Linked DNA regions of Homo sapiens: regions 1 and 3 are each linked to region 2. The links are contacts of gene promoters, found by promoter capture Hi-C in blood cells and fetal thymus (Javierre and others, 2016). All regions are on one chromosome and are shown on one strand. The core of a region is centred on a gene start or on the middle of the fragment in contact, and the rest is flanking DNA. Distances in the headings are between cores, read along the strand shown. Region 1 overlaps FAM20B (FAM20B glycosaminoglycan xylosylkinase). Region 2 holds the start of RASAL2-AS1 (RASAL2 antisense RNA 1). Region 3 holds the start of RALGPS2-AS1 (RALGPS2 antisense RNA 1).

Region 1 (3,178 bases), core at 184-2,683, 940 kb before region 2:
GGAGGCTGAGGCTGCAGTGAATCAAGATCATGCCACTGCATTCCAGCCTGGGTGACAGAGCAAGATCCTGTCTCAAAAAAAAAAAAAAAAAAAAAAAAAAGAATGAGACCTCTACATGTGTTGTGCTAAGATTAGTGCCTGGATGACCCACAGTAATCACTTGCTAGTCATTATCACCATATCAAAAACCCAGATGACCTCCAGAGAGGAGAAAAATGACAAAGAAAACCCTCATTGGAATCAATATACCATAATGTTGTCTTCTCAGTTACATAGTGAGGGGCCAAATCCACACATTGCATTACTAAGAGTTTAGTAGTAATTAGTAGTCTTGTATTTCTGAGCCAAATTCTTGCCTAAATTTGAGAGGTAGATAAGACTAGGCAAATAGATATCTTCAGAGTGAGTGTCATGCAAAGCAGAAGACTGGGAGGCTGTCACTAATTTGGCCAACCTGTTTCCCTTCTCTACAAAGTTCAATTCTACCACACTCAATGTAACTGAAACAGATGGGAAGCATGAACTTATCCCACTTCACAAAAAAAGGCTAAAATAGAATGCCTTTCACAACTGTTTTCAGTTTGGAAAATTAGTTCTGTGTTTTAAAGATGACAGCTTTTCATGTGCTAAAGCCCTTAAGATAAGCCTTAAGAGTAACTTAAGAGTACAGGTGTAGAAAATCTAATTCTTACATAATCCAAATTGGTCCAAGTGTCAGGTTTTCCTTACTGTTTTCACTTCCATTTAAACATTTATTTACATCTGTAAACTCAGAATCACTTATATGAAATTCTCTAACAAGTTCCCTCTGAAGGAAGGCAACTAAAACCATTACCAGGCATTAATGAAGCATTAAGGTAGTCTTTCTTGCTGGATGTGAAAGTAAAAATGAAATAGGCAATAACTGAATAATTTCAATAAGTGAACTGAAAAAAAATCAATCTCTGCAACCTGTCCCATTTAAACCTTGATTTAGGGCAACCCTCTTCCTTGAAAAATGAAAAAGAAAAAAACTTTAGCTCATACTGCTAGCGAGTTCTGTTCTAAAAAACCAACACACGCAGTAATCTTGACACTACGTGGAAATGAGTAACAATTTGCATTTTCCTTTAAATAAGCCAGGTATAATGACACTTCCCAAGTTCCAGGTATTTCACAGCACAACTGTCAGTACAGAACCACCATTTAAGGCTAGATTATAGAAGGTAATTCCTGTATAGTGTTGAAATACGGCATTACAAATATTATAACATTTTCCTTCAGCTTTTCATATGCTTTCCATCTTTAGTGTTCAATTCACTACAGTTCTTGGAAAACCACATAAACTTTATACAACAATAGACCTCGCATTTTTAGCCTTATGTTCTATGGTACGTCAAGCTGACAGCCCACACAGGAGATCACTCTCAGAAGCAGGAGAACCTCAAACAGATCTGTGCTGAAATTATGGCTAGGTGGCTCCAGGCATGATCCCTCTGTTATACTATGAACTCACACACACACAAACACACACACACACATTTTTTTTTTTTTTTGGCACATCTGTCTCTTCTAATATATTGTGTTTTTTGAGGATGGGATAGATTTTACTCACGCTTTGTACTTCCAAGTAACTTAGCACTGTGCAGGGCCTGTAAGAGGCATCTGATAAGTGTTTGTGGAATAAAAGGAGAGAAGGGCAAAGGAGAAAGACCTTTAGGGTTATAAGAATTTCTTCTAAACTGGCAACTCTCTGGTTTAAAGACTGCCTCTTTCAGAGACAGGGGGAAATAAGTCCTACAATGAATTCAAGTATACAGTATATAAAAGATGCAGAAATAGCGAATATGTATACCAATTATATACACTCAATTTAAAGTTGCCACCTTCTGTATATCCTGCTTCCACCTTTCAAGGCCACTGCTATTGCCAACCTGGTTCCTAGTATCGGCTGGGATTAAGAGTAAAGACAATTTGGAAATGCTAAAAGGAAGAAAGGAGGTTGTCTAACACACTGCCCAAGGATGATACAAGACAGGGCTGAAATCAGATCTTCAAGTATTATTGGCAGTGCTTTCTGAAACAAGAACCCACACGAGTAAGTACTTCCATATTATTTTGTTTTTTTTTTTACAGAAAACTACAGGAACATAAATGCACCTATACAGAGCACACGTTCACTATCTACACCAACGATAAGAAACAAACAAACAAAAACGTCCCTGGGCAACAAAAATAAGTGGTTACAAAGTTCATACCCTAAAACTTGGAGAAGAGCAGGTAGAACATAACTAAGCCAATTTAGCTGTTTTACATTCAATGTCAGGAAGCTCCTACTCCACAGATAAGAAGCTGCAAATTTAAAAGAGGGCAGCAAGGATACTAACAGCAGCAAAAGAGCAGCTTTCCACCACTGAAAGAAGACAAAGACTGACTACTGAATCGACTCAAGTAGATTCAATAATTCAAAAAGCACAGTGGACAACAAACTACATTTTTCGATCATCTCATAGCCTCACTCAACTACTGCCAGTATGCTAGTAATAATAACCAAAGCATATATTGTAAAAATTTTTCCACAAAAGGTATAGCTAAAATAAAATTTTCACATATAATACCTTACTCCCCAACATTAGGTAAATGAGGCATTGCTATGTATATAAAGCAGAAAGTTAACATTTGAGAGCATGGAATGATAGACTTCACTGCCTCCCTCTGTACTTGGTTCTGTCCTCTTTACACATTCATAATTTCATATTCCTTGACCTGCCTTTATAACGTGCCCAAGTTAGCACCCTCTTCTCTAAAGGGGTTATCTTGCCAGAAAGTACAGACCTTAAACACACACCAAAGCTCAAGGTCTCTTCTGCATCAGCTTACATTTTTCTCTTATCTCACACTGGGATGACAGACGCACCCATCTGTCATGTAGATTCTTTACATCCCAAGCTAGGCATTTCTTCTTTTGTTTTTGGTAAGAAAGACCAAATCAGAAGTGAGATCTTTGCATTATTTTCTCTTCTAGGCAGCTCGAGCAGTCATGCTGACATTGTAAGTTAGTCAGAAGCTGGTTTCAATAGCAAAGTAAGCTTCTGTTCTGCAGCCCAGGCCTATGTTAAAGAATTCATTAGTACTTGGGGTTACAGAGACAGCTGAAGGAAAACAGGAAGATATATGTAGGTGTAGAAGAAGGAACTGC
Region 2 (3,035 bases), core at 169-2,668:
GCATGGTTTTAGTGCTGCCACAAGGCTCACCCTAATAGAATCTCATCATTCAGTTTTAATTAAAGAGGTGGTTACCAGGAATGCAGAAAGGGAAAGTTTTAGTGTGTTCATCACTTTTAACCTGCTGAGTGGCAACCCAGTCACTTTACAACGAGATTCAGAAACAATAGTGTAATCTGAAACAATCCACACCCGTTGGAATAAGTGGTTGCTTTTAGAGAGAGTGAGGTTCAGGCAGAGGTTATAGATTAGTCTTGCTCCCACCAAATACATAGTTTGCATTTTTTTCATTCATTAGCTTATCCTCTGCTTTTTCATAATATCTTGGTTTCCAGTCTTGCCTCATTCAACAATAAAAAGAGACGAAAATCCATTCACTTGGTTTCATGGAGTTTTTCCATCATACCTTCTTGAAGATTGATTGCCTGGCTGTTCCCTTGAAGTAATCGCCTAAGAATTACGTCTTGGATAGCCCAACTCCCGCATTAAACTTACTGCAGGTGTCTGAAGAGGTCCAAAGACCATACTGAGTGACATCCCTGCCCAAGTGATAGTCTGAAGAAACTTGTCAGAAATGCACCCCCAGAACAAAAAGGGATGTGGGAAACTGACCTAGCACGGATGAGGACTGGGAATGAGCCTGTGACTTAGGGAATGAATTTCAGCCCAAGCAAAAATAGGAAACACCAGCCTCTAAGACGGCCTGTGGTCCTTACCGTACACCCGGACCCAGCTCTGTTGCTGGCACACGGACTCCAGAAGGATCCGATCCAACATGCCACCGGCGACGGCTCCACTGACTGGGACAACCGCGTCCAGGTCCTCCGGGGGCAGCGGCGAGTCGGACTCCAGCGCCGGGAACATCTCCGGCCAGGACAGCGCCTCCGCGGCTCCTCCGGACGACGGAGAGAGCTCCATGGTGCCCCGAGGCGGGAGGGGGACGAGGCGGCGGCTTCGGGGCGGGCTGGCGCGCGGCTCCGCGCCCTGCCTGCGGTAAGGGGAGGAGGAGAGCGCGCAGCGAGGGCAGGGACCCGAGCGGCAGCCGGCGCGGACACCTCTCACCTCCTTCCCCGTCGCCCACTGCCCGAGGCTCGGGCGATGCAGCCCACCTGCAGTCGGCGGGCGGGACCCAGGCCGGGAGGAGGATCCAGCGTGGCCCCGACCAAGGGTGGGTCCGGGCTCAGGTGTGTGTGGGTCCCTCCCGGGAGAGGACGCAGAAGAACCCGGGAGGGGAGGCTCGCCCTCCCACCTCCTCGGAGCCGCCTTCTTCAGCCCCGCCGGCGTCTCTCGCGGTCAGACCAGGCTCTGGCTGGGGATGGAGCGGGGCCGGGCAGGGCTGGGCTTGGGGGCGTCGCCGCCAGGGGCCGCCCCCTCTGACCGGCTCCCGCCGCCGCCGCCTCAGAAGCTCCGAGTGCCCGTTCCCTCAGCCTGAGGAGGGGTAGGGGGCGGTGGCCCCGGGTTCTAGCCCGCCTGTCCTCGGCCCCCACTTCTGGAATGAGCCTGCCCGCCCCCTGACTCTCAGGCCACAGCTCCGGCCACAGCTCTGGCTCCTGCTCCGCGGCGGATCCCACAAACCCGGCAGCCACGGCGGTGGCGGTGGCGGTGGCGGTGGCGGTGGCGGCGGCGGCGGCGGCGGCAGCGGCAGGCGGCATCCCAGGGTGATAGGCTGAAGCAATCGAGGGCCGAGAGCCCGGCCGCGTGTGCACTCGAGTAACGAAGCCGGGGAGGGACTGCGCCGCAGGCAGGAAAAGTCGGACACCGAATTATTCATCCGGCCTGTCCCGCCTACTTTCCAAGTACCCTCCCAGGGATAGCCGGGTATTGAGCGGTCCGGGTCTCTGCTGCTCAAAGTAAAGACCGTTTGAGAAGGCGGGGAGGTAAAAGGGTGCGGGAAATTTAAACAGAAAAGAAAGGAGCTTCCCTTCCTTCTCACACCTTTCCTATTTATTTGTTTCTTTCTTTCTTTATGGGCCAACGTTTCTTTCTTATTGGACAAAGAGATCGAAGAAGCTGCTTTATCTTACAGTCACCCAAGGGGGAGCGCCTTCTTCCTTCCCAGAGTGGAGTGGCAGTGGGTCCGGGATTCTGGGATATGCACAGGGTCTGCGCCCTGCGCCCTGTCCGCGCTGAAGCTGAACTTGTCATTGGTTTGCAACAGCATGGTGAAGAAGTGTGGTGTGGATGGACGGACGGGCCTCTCAGGCACATGAAATACTCAAAGCCCAGTATTAACCAAACATGTTTCTCTGTTTTGTCTTTGATCTTTGTGCAGTGTGTTGGCTTTTTTCCTTTAATGATGTCACTTGTATTTTATTTTTGGTTTATTTGTAGACTGTCTCCCTCCTTGGCCATGGCTTTACTTTTATGTCCACCCAAGGAGAGTTTCACCAGTTTAGGTTTAAGAAATTACTGACAAGTTAACAATAATAATTTCAAAATTGAACAGTAATAACTTAAACCGTGCCTTGGACATAGTAGATCTCCAACAGTTTTTCTTGAATGTGGCTACCTAATGTGGAACAAGATTTTTCATAATTACATGTTGCTATTTTTAATACCTTTTGGGAGGTTCTTTAGTCCCCCCCGCCCTTTCTCCCTACGTTGCACAAAGAGACTGGTCTACAAGGGGTCCTGTTAGTTTTCTGGTTTTGTGGGGTCCTGGAATATTGTTTGGGCTTATTGAGAGTTAACAAGGATGTATTTTGTGAGTTTCTCCAAAGTCTTATTTAGAGTAATAGTATTTCAAAGCAAGAAGTGTTTTAGAGAGAACATCATTCTGCCTCTTGTTTAACAGGTGAGGAAACTGAGGAAAAACCAGCTTACCTGGCTAATCAACCACAAGTACAGATAGTTCCACAATGACTCAATGGATATTACTTCAACTTTGTTCCCTCAAGAAACTTTTGTGATTAAGCTTGTTGATTTGTGGCTTGATGGTTTACAGGAATGGTCATTTTTAATATCTAGGACCCTGCTTGCTTGCTTGCTTGCTTGCTTACTAGACTGGCTGCATAGTCAGTCTTCCACGTGTAAAC
Region 3 (3,271 bases), core at 527-3,026, 630 kb before region 2:
AAAAAAGGTCATGTAAGTGAAATAACAGAAAACTATCAATTAAATTCAAGATGAGAGATTCAAGTCTTTCACACTCCAAAGCAATGTATTATTCAAAAGCCAGTACCAAAAGTTTCTCTGTAATGAAATAAACGGCCAAGCTTCCTCAAGCTAAGTCATATGAACACTGCTATATCCATATAACTGTATGTATATATAGATCCTTCCCATATCCCTAACTAGCTACTTAGTAAAGTGACTATGTAAATTTATATTCAAACTTTTTTCTTTCCATAGAATAGGTAAATGTAACACATTTTAAATTCCAGTGTTTTATTTCTATTATGTAGTTAAAAGTTTTCCTAAATCAAAAGCTCAAGACATTAAACCAAAAAAGATTCCAGATTAATTCCACGTTACTAAAATTTATCACAATCTTTATTCTCTCACTAAAAAGGATTCAATAGGAAATTTAAGACACATTTAAAGAAACAATTTACAGGGTAATGCAATACATTCATTTTCCTCTCCAAGGAACTTCACTCAGGCTGGGGTAGTTTCAAGCTATTTGAATTATCTTTCATTGAAAATTAACTTAAAAAAAAGTATTCATATTAAAGTGACAATTTTATTCCAAATACAGTCGTTACACAATAAATATCTCATATTCAAAAAATGGATACACTTCAATATCTTATTCTCAAACTGTGTATCATTAAAATTAAAAGTAAACCCAAACTATGTGCCTATTTTACATAGCAAAAAAAAAAAAAAAAGCATACTTTCGGAGAAAATGGGTTTAAAGTTTAACTCACAAAAGAAAACAAATTTGATTCAATAAATTTCAATTAATAGTTTGGTTTATGGTTTAAAAGTTATTTAAAAATTTCTGAAAAAGCAGATTATCAAGGAATTGGTTCACTCACAGTCAGCCAGAAATAAAAAGGTGATATTTTAAAATTTTAGACCAAAAAAGAAATTTAGATTCCCTTATAAATAAATGCCGAGAGAATATTTTCAGCAAACATTCATTTAACTACATAAACCAAAAGAATAAGGCTGTCTAACCACATGTAAACTACGCATCATCTGACTTCAGGTAGAATGTTTATCTTTGGTATACTTGGTAACCAGAAACCCAAAGTATATAAACATAGGCATATTCTAAAAACAATTGTCTTAATGTTTTTGTTCGCTAGGCAATAATTCCCACAATTCTCAGAAAGAAAAAAACAATATCCTTAACCAAAAAGTTATCAGAGGAGTTTCTACTTCTTAAACTTTTAAACAAACATATTTGCCCACTTATCATTTAAGCCCCATCAGGGCTTAAATGATAAGCCCTGTTGTGTCTCCCCTGTTGTGTCCCCAACCTCTAGGGAACTAACTGGCACCAAGTAGGTACCCAATACACATGTGCAGAATGAACTGAGTCTCTGGAAAAAGCTTAAGTGTTTTAAGTTGCAACAGGACAATTTCACCTATATATCCATCATTCACTACACTGAACTCTAATGACGTAATAAAAAGACTCGTACCAGGTATTTAAAAACACACACAAAAATATATTACTCACATATGTATCTGACTCACAAAGCCAGTTTTTCAGTTATGTTTTCTCTCAGGAAAATTTGTTGTATTCTTTCTAGTATTACTAATAAATATTAGAAAAGCACGTTGTGTTCTGCCAATGCAAGCATTATCTTCAAACTTACGTTGCAATCTGAAAAAATTTAGGCAAACTAAACAGTATTTCCAGAGTCCTGCCCCAAAGTATTACTAAAAGTCAAATTCCTTAATTCAATGAAAAGTGAAATAACGCACAGTGGCGCATGCCTGTAGTCCCAGCTTCTTGGGAGCCTGACACGGGAGGATCGCTTGAGCTCAGGAGTCTGAGACCAGCCTGAGCCAAATAAGGAGAACCTATCTTAAAAGGAAAAAAAAAAAAGTGGAATATAATGGGAAAAACGCACATCTTACCGTTCAAAAATTATGCTGAATTTTAAAAAGAAAAAATGAACTACGCTTAAAATAAATACACTGAAATTGTTTATCCCAAATGGCATTAATGCCCTTACATTTTGATATTTAGATCTGCCTCAAAAGACCTTTGAAGCTACATGATAAACTTCATGCCTACAAAGCTTGAGTTAGAGGTTATCTTTGTTAAAATAATACTGTTTGGATGCTCAGTTTTGGAAGTTTCCTCATAATTCTAAATTAAGATATTTAGCCGTAAGAGTAATACACTTATGTGTATGATTCTATAGCACTTGTTCTATAGCACTTGTACAAGCATAATGATCTTGAGTGGAACAGGCTTTATAATGAGCAAGCTATGATCTGTCTAACAGCGATACTCTGCAAACACGGGCTGAAAAGTTTCCTAAAATTCTGATGGTCATCTTCAAAGAAACTTGAACAGGAATCGATCTAATGGTGGACACAGAAAAATACCCAAGTCAACTCATGAACACTGGTAAGAAAAGGCTCTCTATAGCAACTAAAGTGTTGGGGAAAAAAAATCCAGGGAGCATAAACGATAAAGCTCAATTAACTGCTGCTTGTGTGATTCCACTTTATGGTCTTAAATACACAGTAGGCATTAGATATTTCTTTTGGGGTTTTTTTTTTTTAACAGAAATTTAGTATTTCAATTGCCCCTCCTCCACAGCTAACATCAGTGCCCTTTCTTCCTCCTCCCTTACCCCTCCCAACTCAAACAAATTAACATTTGTACTAGGTACCTCCTATCAGCTCGCAGCTTCTTCCCAAACACGCCCACGTACACTGAAACTGGCTTGCGTCTACACAACACACAGCTACAGGAAAAGAGCTTCGAGGGGGGAGCTGGGGCGGGGGGTTAATAATTCGCTCCGCACAGGTTTACGGCTATTTTCCAGAAACTAGTTCCTCGCTCGTGGCTCGCGTTTCTTCCAAATCACCTCAAAAGCACGGTGTTTATGAGCCTACCTAATCCGATACTGCAATGGAATTCCGGATATTTGCAGACAGATCTCCCGGCTTTGCAAGTGTTTGATGAGATACGTTCGGAATCTCCTTTTTTTTCTAGAGCCCGGTTCCAGGCCGTAGAGCAAGCCGACCTGGGGCTGCGGCCCCTGCCCCACACCCGGCCCGCGCGCCCGGCCCGAGGCCAGCACAGGACGCAGCCCCTCCGGGGCCGGGGCTGGCGGGGGCCGCTCGGGCTGCGGGCCGCTCTGCAACAGGTCACCCTGACCGCGACTCCGCGGGTTCGCGGGCGGCCAACTCTGCGGCCAGGCTTCTGGGCGCA

Evidence for each region. Contacts are between HindIII fragments. The CHiCAGO score rates a contact against its expected background, and 5 or more counts as called.
Region 1: a contact is called between a fragment that was not itself captured here and the fragment with the promoter of RASAL2-AS1 in region 2, in 1 of 17 cell types (M0 macrophages). The highest score is 7.4, in M0 macrophages.
Region 3: a fragment that was not itself captured here is called in contact with the fragment with the promoter of RASAL2-AS1 in region 2 in 1 of 17 cell types (monocytes); the score reaches 5.5 in monocytes.

The regions. Positions count from the first base shown.
Region 1 is chr1:179,029,236-179,032,413 of GRCh38, reverse strand. The region is part of intron 1 of FAM20B (FAM20B glycosaminoglycan xylosylkinase); the gene reads right to left. Among named protein-coding and RNA genes, the nearest start is that of FAM20B, 4.9 kb to the right of the region's middle. RefSeq lists a silencer at 2,746-3,040 and an enhancer at 2,809-3,178. The HindIII fragment of the contact is 3,274 bases long and covers 1-3,070 here.
Region 2 is chr1:178,092,376-178,095,410 of GRCh38, reverse strand. RASAL2-AS1 (RASAL2 antisense RNA 1) reads left to right here and starts at 1,418. Exons shown (of 2, transcript NR_027982.1): 1 at 1,418-1,850; 2 at 1,999-3,035. It overlaps RASAL2 (RAS protein activator like 2), which reads right to left and starts at 1,307. Exons shown (of 18, transcript NM_170692.4): 1 at 717-1,307. The coding sequence starts at 918. RefSeq lists silencers at 869-928, 1,079-1,238, 1,309-1,608, 1,659-1,708 and an enhancer at 1,330-1,831. The HindIII fragment of the contact is 4,675 bases long and covers 1-2,916 here.
Region 3 is chr1:178,725,887-178,729,157 of GRCh38, reverse strand. The region is part of intron 1 of RALGPS2 (Ral GEF with PH domain and SH3 binding motif 2); the gene reads right to left. RALGPS2-AS1 (RALGPS2 antisense RNA 1) reads left to right here and starts at 2,874. Exons shown (of 1, transcript NR_187252.1): 1 at 2,874-3,271. RefSeq lists a silencer at 3,105-3,271 and an enhancer at 2,975-3,271. The HindIII fragment of the contact is 698 bases long and covers 1,428-2,125 here.